3 separate regions of the Homo sapiens genome follow, and regions 1 and 3 are each linked to region 2. Evidence: promoter capture Hi-C in 16 types of primary human blood cells and fetal thymus (Javierre and others, 2016). All regions are on one chromosome and are shown on one strand. Each heading gives the region's core, a stretch centred on a gene start or on the middle of the fragment in contact. The rest is flanking DNA. Distances are from core to core; before and after follow the strand shown. Region 1 overlaps GPR155 (G protein-coupled receptor 155). Region 2 holds the start of NFE2L2 (NFE2 like bZIP transcription factor 2). Region 3 holds the start of WIPF1 (WAS/WASL interacting protein family member 1).

Region 1 (2,715 bases), core at 207-2,706, 2.8 Mb before region 2:
CCGCAAATATTAGAGCTGCAGTGATGCCCTGTGGTTCTCTCCAGTGATTCTCTCCATCAATTGAGCTCCGCCTGGTGGATAAGGGCATCGGGCACACATAGTCTCCGCTGAATGTCCCCATGCATCCAAATTCTCTGGAAATTTCAGAAGTTCTCAAGGCTACATTGAGGAGTCACCCAGGGACCAGAGTCCTTTCCAGCCCGTGGTCATATTTGAATATAGGATGGGAAGAAGGGTATAGTAGAGCACTACTAATCAACTTTAAACCAATAACTTTTTTTTCTAAAGACAGGGTCTTGCTCTGTCTCCCAGGCTGGAGTGCAGTGGTGCAATCTCAGCTCAGTGCAACCTCTGTCTCCTGGGTTCAAGCGATTCGTGTGCCACCACGCCCGGCTAATTTTTGTATTTTTGTAGCGACATGTTGCTTAGGCTGGTTTTGAACTCCTGACCTCAGGTGATCTGCCTGCCTCAGCATCCCACAGTGCTGGGATTACAGGCATGAGCCACTGTGCCCGACCTGAACGAATTAACTTTAACTTTTCTGTGTCTCACCTTCTTCACCTGTAAAATGGCAATAATAGTAATACCTACCACATGGGAACTTGCGATTATTCCACTGAAGTCTTTATAATCACATCTGGAACAGAGTAATTACTTAACGGAAGTTAAATATAACTTTTGGTAGAACATGAGAGAGAGAAAAAAATGACGACCTCCCACCAATATACCTTTAGCTCCTTCTACACCCGCCACACACACTGGCCCCAGGGACTTTGTGCCACAGGGACTTTGCACATTCAGTTCACTCAAGTGTCACGGAAGCAGGGACTATGCATGTTTTTGCTCAATGTTGTGTCCTTAACATCTAGGACAGTACCTGGCATACACGAGACAGAAAAAAAAATTTTTTTTAATGAATAACTATAATTACTTATACTTAAACCTTTTACCCTTTCATGGATCAATGTTCTCTTTCAGGCACTATTTAGTTTACAGACAGAATTTTTTTTTGTTTTCTGAATGATAAAGTATTATAAGTTTTCCACTACAGCAACAGAACCAAGAACACAAAATATGTCTAAAGGTGTTCATGAAATGTTAAAAAATACAAAATGTTTTGTAAAATGTTCTAAAGAGGTTCAGAAAATGCTAAAGCATGGAACAAATTCAAAACACGAATAGTACAATAATTATCAGACCCCCTCTTGCTGCCAGGAACACAATGAACATGAGGTCTGGATAACTCTAAAGCTAATCAGCTTTTATTAGTATCTTGAAATTAAAATGACGACAATTGCCAATTTCTTTTTCTTTTTTTTTCAGATGGAGTTTTGTTCTTGTTGCCCAGGCTGGAGTGTAATGGCGTGATTGCGGCTCACCTCAACCTCCGCCTCCCAGGTTCAAGAGATTCTCCTGCCTTAGCCTTCCCGAGTAGCTGGGATTACAGGCATGCACCACCATGCCTGGCTAATTTTGAATTTTTAGTAGAGACGGGGTTTCTCCATGTTGGTCAGGTTCGTCTCAAACTCCCAACCTCAGGTGATCTGCCCGCCTCGGCCTCCCAAAATGCTGGGATTATAGGTGTGAGCCACCACGCCCAGCCAACAATAGCCAATTTCTAAGTGATTATTCTGGGTTTACCATCTAAAGTAGACTGATATAAGGTAGAAAGTAAAAAGCTCATGCTTCCAGAAATTTACAATGCTCAGGTTAAGTCCTCAAACATCTATATCACATTAAAAAGACTTAGATGGCAGCCCAGAGATCACCAACAACTGATAGCTGGCGTGGGTACAAGGGAATTTTCTCTGTGCTACCCTTGTATAAACCGAACCATTTGAAAACCTTATATTTAATCTGGATTAGGACAAGTATTTTCCTACTAGGATTAGATAGCAGTGGTCAATATAGTACATGAAACCTACACTACTCACATACTTGAAGTTTACCAAATAAGCATCAAATTATATCTTGGGAAAGCTACCGGTTGGTACAGATACACATACTTGAAGTAAGGAGCTGGTAAACAATTAAACAAAGGCGTTAAACATTTGGAGCCCTTAAGACGGTGTGTACTTGGAAAGGCAGTGCTAAACAGGAAAGTGATAAATTAATCCAGTCTTCTGTTCACTTTCAAAAGTGCCTAGAGTATTAATAACTCATTCTGCTTATAAGCCCTTACTTGTACAACACGAGCATGTCAAGGCATTCCAATAATATTTTTTAACCAACAGTTTAAACTAGCAGAAGTTCAGTGGAGAGTCAAACAGATTCTGAGCTTTATGGTTTATCAACTCATAAGTTACTTAGTCTTTCTGAACCTTTGTTTCCTCAACTGTAAAATGAGAGTAAAAACCTCCCTATAGGGATCAGTCATAGCAGCTCACGCCTGTAATCCCAGCATTTTGAGAGGCCCAGGCAGGTGGACTGTGTGAGCCCAGGAGTTTCAGACCAGCCTGGCCAACATGGCAAAACCTTAGTCTCTACAAAAAATTAGCTGAGCTTAGTCATGCGTGCCTGTTGTCCCAGCTACCTGGGAGGCTGAGGTGGGAGGATCACCTGAGCCTAGGAGGTCTCTGCAGTGAGCCATGATCACACCACTGCACTCCAGCCTGAGTAAGACCCTGTCTCAAACAAAGACCTCCTTAGAGGGATATTGTGTGGATAGAATATTTTATATACAGCTTATCACAGAGTAGGCCTTCAAAAAACGGC
Region 2 (2,700 bases), core at 59-2,558:
GAGAATATCCCGTCTTACACATTTTGGAATTGCAATTCTGAAACGCTAAATCCAAAGACAAAGCCGCTCTGGGGAAAATAGCAATTGCGCAACAGATCAACAGCTCCAACCTGTCCCTTGGCCCTGGCGCGGCGAGGTTTGCACGCTATAAAGCAGGAAAGGGCCAACCGAGGGCTGCTGTGACGGCCAACCGAGCGCTGTCACGGAAGCCAAGGCCACGCGCGCGGTGAGCGCCACCAGGGGGCACCGCGTCCGAACTAGAAGCCCCGGGTGCCGCCGACTCCGGCCTCAGAGTCCACTGCCCTCGCCCGCACTTTCCCGCGGCGTTACGAGGGGCCAACTCCGGGTGCCCGAGCCCGAACCCCTCCCCGGCCGAGAAAGTGCGCGGGGCCCGGCTCAGCCGCCACACGTCGGGGCTTCTGAGCCCGCTGGGCACTTAAGGCGCTCCTCCCTCGTCCCGGGGCTGGGCTTTCAAGAGAGCTCAAGGCTGCCAGAGAGTGATCCGAGAGATGGATGACTTCGCAAAGCCGCGCCCACAGACGGCCCAGCGGGGTGAGCGCGTCGCAGCCCGCACTCAAGGAGGTCTTGGGGCGCGGCGAAGGGGCTCCGGGTCCCAGCCCGAAGGCGACCTCAGTTCCCCCGAGAGCGGCCCCGTGACTAGGCACATTTTTGCCGGCACCGAGGCGGGGGAGCCGCGCAGCCCCGGAAGGGCCGGGCCGCGCCGGCTCAGACGGCCAGCGTCCGCCCCCTCTTGCCCCGCCGCCCACCGGGCCGCTCAAACTTAGGGGCTCCGGAGTCCCAGCTCTCGGGCCCGGGGACGCGGCTGGATTCTCCCCCAAGGCCCACGCGAGCGGGCTCAGTCCCCAGACCTTCCCGCAACTTCCCACCCGTTCGCCCTCGGGCTCGTGGTCGGTCGGATCACCCGGCCGCGTCCCCGCTGCCCCTCCCCGCCCTGCCCCGGCGCAAGCGCGGCGGCTCTACCCAGCGCCGCGGTCCTGGCTCTGGCCAGACGTGGGGGAAGCCGGTTGCGGCTGTCCCTCCCGGGCCGCGGTTCCCTAGCTCCCCCGCCCCCGTCCCGGCACCACCGCAGGGCCCAGAGGGCCGAGGCAGCACCTGCTGGGACGGGAGTCCCGGCGGCGGCAGCTCCAAGTCCATCATGATGAGCTGTGGACCGTGTGTTGGGGCTCCCCGACGGCGGCCCTGTTCCGGCTGCCGAGGCGCGGCGCGGACAGGGCGGCTCTGGTGGCGGCGGCGGCGGCGGTGGCGGCTGCGTCGGCGGCTCCTCCGGGCTCCCCGGCACTCGGTAATCGGCTACACGCCGGCGGGCCCCTGCCCCGCTCCGCCTCCCGCCCCACAAGGGCGGGGCAAGAGTCCGGGCCCTTCCTTCCCCCGCCGGCCGCGCGGGCTGAGCTTCCGAAAATCCCCCACCCGCGCCGGGGCTGACGCAAGAAGCTCGCGGTCCGGGGGCGGGAAGGGACTGCCAGCTGGGGTCCCAGCAGGCGGGGGACCTAGAGGAGGTCTCCGTTAGCTCCCCGGTGCCGGCGTTCAGTTTGCCCTCCCCCGCAAATAAGGGCAGCGCTCTCGCCCGCGAGATAAAGAGTTGTTTGCGAAGGTCGCTGGAGTTCGGACGCTTTGAAACAGTTTAAACAGTTGGAACAAACACACCCGGAGCCCCGGAAAGGCGTTGGTGTAGGAGCTGCGCCTCCCTGATTTGGAGTTGCAGAACCTTGCCCTGCTTTTATCTCACTTTACCGCCCGAGAATGGCGCCAGCCGGGGTGGGGGGGGCTAAAGATTTGGACCCAGACCGTGCCACTGCCAACTGCCCTCCCGCCCTTGCTCCCTTCCCGGGCTGGGGCCAGTGGGCCCTGCCTAGGGGAGATGTGGACAGCTCCGGCAGCTCGTGTTCGCAGTCACCCTGAACGCCCTCCTCTGAACTCCCACGTGTCTCCATTCTCCTAAGCTCAGGTCGTCAAAGGCAAACGGAGAAGCCCCTTTAGGTCGGAGAGTGGTCAGTATTGCCCACCCAGAGCTGGGAGAAAAACGGGAACCCCAAGAGAACCTCTTCCCACCAAAGCGCAGCCACCACGCCACAGATGGCGCCCTTCAACAGTGTGTAATACCACAACATGCTGTAATCGTTTACTCTTTACAAATTTCTTTTTCACGTACTCACAAAATAGTACAAATTAAAAAAAGTTACAAAAACGTTTGTATAGTATTGGCTCATTTTATAAAAACGTGCCTAGAAAAAAATTGAAGGTTACCAATATATTAAATGCTGTGGAATCAACGATTTTTATGTTTCTCCTTGTTACTTCCAAGTATGCTTTAAATCTGCAGTGCGTATGTTTTATGTCTTACATTAAAAACAATTATTTAAAAATTAATCATTGCCCAGAGAAGACTTCAAGTATTTGAAACGAGGAATATTGTGAACTCTTATAAGGGTTCAAAGAGGATAGATAAATGGTTTAGTTTTGTTTTTTTCTTCCTCTTCTGCATTTACAATCTTTCTAACTCTATACAAGACTGGTTTTCAGTTTCTAGCTTCCTGGAATTATTCAAAACCAGGTGAAGTAGATAATACTGGCAGTGGTTTTGCTATTTCATTCAAAAACCACACACACACCCCTGACTATAGCAATCAACGCCCAAAAAGCTGCAGAGCTTACTTTCTCTAGGTTGCATAATTTGACACT
Region 3 (2,700 bases), core at 3-2,502, 2.7 Mb before region 2:
GAAAAGCATACTGATTAAGGCATTCCTTATTCTAGTATTTTTTTACAGTTTTAATTTTCAGGACAGACAGAGGTATTTATGGAAGTCCAGGAGAAATGCTTTCTTCAACAACAAGCACATGTTTAACAATTTGGACAAAATGAGTCAAACCTTAAAGCAGAAATATATCATAATTTAAACAGCCAGAAACTTCCAAAGTAAATGATGTGTGTTCATAAAATGTTAAGAAGGCTTCAAAAGGTCATAACACTTAAAGGGTCCAGGAATTCAGTATCACTTCATCTCATATTTTAGGTAGGCTGGGGAACTTCCAGCCTACAGGCCAGATTTAGAATTTGATCAGATCTGAAGTTGCTGCTCGATCCCAGGAACTAATTTTCACCACAGGGAGTTCTCTGAATATTTCAGTCCACCCAGAGTATGTGTAACCCTTAAAAGGTTAGATATTAGAGTAGCTGAAGCGCTATGAGCAAATAGCCCATGAATAAACTTTTCAAAGAGCAATAGAAAACCTGACTTAGTGAAAAATGACTTTCAGGTAAGTCATTTAATGACCTTAGACTGATAAAAGGAAGAGTTTTGACATGATGATATTCCAGTACAGAAGAACAAAGCTTGATAAAGTTAACACATAGCACTGTAGTCCAAGTGAATTGTAAGAGTATGATTTCCACACAGATCAACCTCAAAACCTTTTCCCAGTTTCTCATCTTCCTTTCTCACTGTCCTGTCCTATTCTTTCCCCAGTCTTTCATCTTTCTCTCTACCAAGCTGTCTTACTTTGCTTAGTTAGAATCTTTCAGTAGCCTTTTCATTTACCACCTCTCCATTCTCTACTACATATACTAGTTATGCCATTAAATTATTTAAAATAACTTGTATGCCTGTAATCCCAGCACTTTGGGAGGCCGAGGCGGGCAGATCACTTGAGGTCAGGAGTTTGAGACCAGCCTGACCAACATGATGAAACCCTGTCTCTACTAAAAATACAAAAACAAAAAAAACAAAAAACTTGTACTTAGTGACTAAAGTTATATGTGCCTTCTGAGTTTTTTAAAGCTTTATTTTATATTTCTTCACGGGGAGAAAGGAACATAAGTCAAATTGTTTCTTCCTACATATTCTAGAAAAAAGTTTTTTAATGTAAAAAGTTTCCTTAGTTCTGCTCTATAAGCCTCTGAGTAGATGGCTTGAAATTTTAAAAATCACAATATTTTATGCCAAAACATTAATCATATTAAACATAAAGTTATAACTAATGCTGTAGAATTTGATTTGCGATAGTAATTGTGCACACACTGTTATAACAGGAATAGACTTATTCTAAAAGACAAATCGTATTATAAAAGACTCTGCTTAGAAATGGTTTAGTTTGAGTTTTGAACTTAAATAGCACATTGGCAGCAACAGAACTGCAACAGCTTAGTTCCATGGTATTTTCGTTTGAAGCTTCCAATGGCTCCTTGTACTTTAAAGCACTTATTGTTGCTGGCCACACCAAAGATTCAAAGGCAGTTGTGTGGACAACTGTATCATACACCAAAAGGATATATTTACCGACATAAGCCCCCAATTTAAATGGGAAAATAAATTCCTGTGGATCCAAACTTGTCCAGTGGTCAAAAAAATTCTATTGAAAATCTTGCTTACATTTTGGCTCAAAGCATAAGTTATGAATCATTCACAATCACCATAGTGGTGAAACTAGCATTCTGGGCAACAGGAATAGCTCACATGGTGCTCTACAGAAAAATTAAACAACTTTATCTTGACATACTATGGTCCATTAAAAGCCATTTAGTTCTTCCCTGTAGCTGATAAATGAAATAAACTTAGTTTGAATATAATTTTTCTTACCGTTAAAGGGTACTGCAGGGAGCCATGGTCAGGGACACAGGCAGACAGAGGGCCAGCGGGACAGGAGCCAAGAGAGAAAACTGTCCCTGAAAAAGGTATCATCTTCTAACGCAAGTGTGGGGTCGTTTTTGGACAGCCATTTTGGACAAGCTCTGGCCTCTTGTTAAATGTGACATACTGAGTCAGAGGCAGACGTCCTTCTGTGGTTATTCGCTTCCTGTCTGATTAATTTGTTGTTTGTTGTTCCTTCCTCCTTTGCTGCAGAAAAAGAAACTAGATTGGTTTTGCTTAAGAAGCAAGCAAGAAAAAAAACCTAAATTAAAAAAAATTAAATGTTTCTCCTCCCCACAAGGTGTAATACACAGCTATTTGGTACAGTGACAAGAGGAGATGAGCACCTCCACTCAGTGAAGAGTCCAACTTTATTCTAGATATTCCCACAAAAATAACTGTTCATGGAACTTGAGATTCCTTTAGGAAAATTATATTTGAAAGTATCACTGTAAATACTGACTATTCCATTGAGTAATAGGGAAAAGAGTCACTCAAGAAAGAAAAGCTCTTACCTACCTTACCTTATCGCTTCATTAGGCTAAGGGCTTCTTCTCATTTACAGGGCATTCAAGTGTGTGGGGAGAAAGTTACAAATGCAGGTAAAGAGAGCAGGTCAGGTGTATGAAGGCAAATGAGGTTCTTTTTTTGGTTTTGTTTTATTTATTTCTTTTTTTTTAGAGAGACAGTCTTGCTGTCACTTAGGCTGGAGTGCAGTGGCGTAATCATAGCTCCCTGTGGCCCTGACCTCCTGGGTTCGAGCAATCCTCCAGCCTCAGCCTCCTGAGTAGC

What was found. The method cuts DNA at HindIII sites, captures the fragments that hold promoters and counts their contacts. A CHiCAGO score of 5 or more calls a contact.
Region 1: a contact is called between a fragment that was not itself captured here and the fragment with the promoter of NFE2L2 in region 2, in 1 of 17 cell types (non-activated CD4 T cells). The highest score is 5.5, in non-activated CD4 T cells.
Region 3: a fragment that was not itself captured here is called in contact with the fragment with the promoter of NFE2L2 in region 2 in 1 of 17 cell types (non-activated CD4 T cells); the score reaches 6.8 in non-activated CD4 T cells.

The regions. Positions count from the first base shown.
Region 1 is chr2:174,482,282-174,484,996 of GRCh38, forward strand. The region is part of intron 1 of GPR155 (G protein-coupled receptor 155); the gene reads right to left. Among named protein-coding and RNA genes, the nearest start is that of GPR155, 3.4 kb to the right of the region's middle. The HindIII fragment of the contact is 4,228 bases long and covers 1-2,715 here.
Region 2 is chr2:177,263,419-177,266,118 of GRCh38, forward strand. It overlaps NFE2L2 (NFE2 like bZIP transcription factor 2), which reads right to left and starts at 1,309. Exons shown (of 5, transcript NM_006164.5): 1 at 1,114-1,309. The coding sequence starts at 1,158. RefSeq lists an enhancer at 1-482 and silencers at 163-322, 583-1,452. The HindIII fragment of the contact is 5,708 bases long and covers 1-2,700 here.
Region 3 is chr2:174,595,744-174,598,443 of GRCh38, forward strand. It overlaps WIPF1 (WAS/WASL interacting protein family member 1), which reads right to left and starts at 2,061. Exons shown (of 8, transcript NM_001375834.1): 1 at 1,858-2,061. RefSeq lists an enhancer at 2,084-2,263. The HindIII fragment of the contact is 390 bases long and covers 1,058-1,447 here.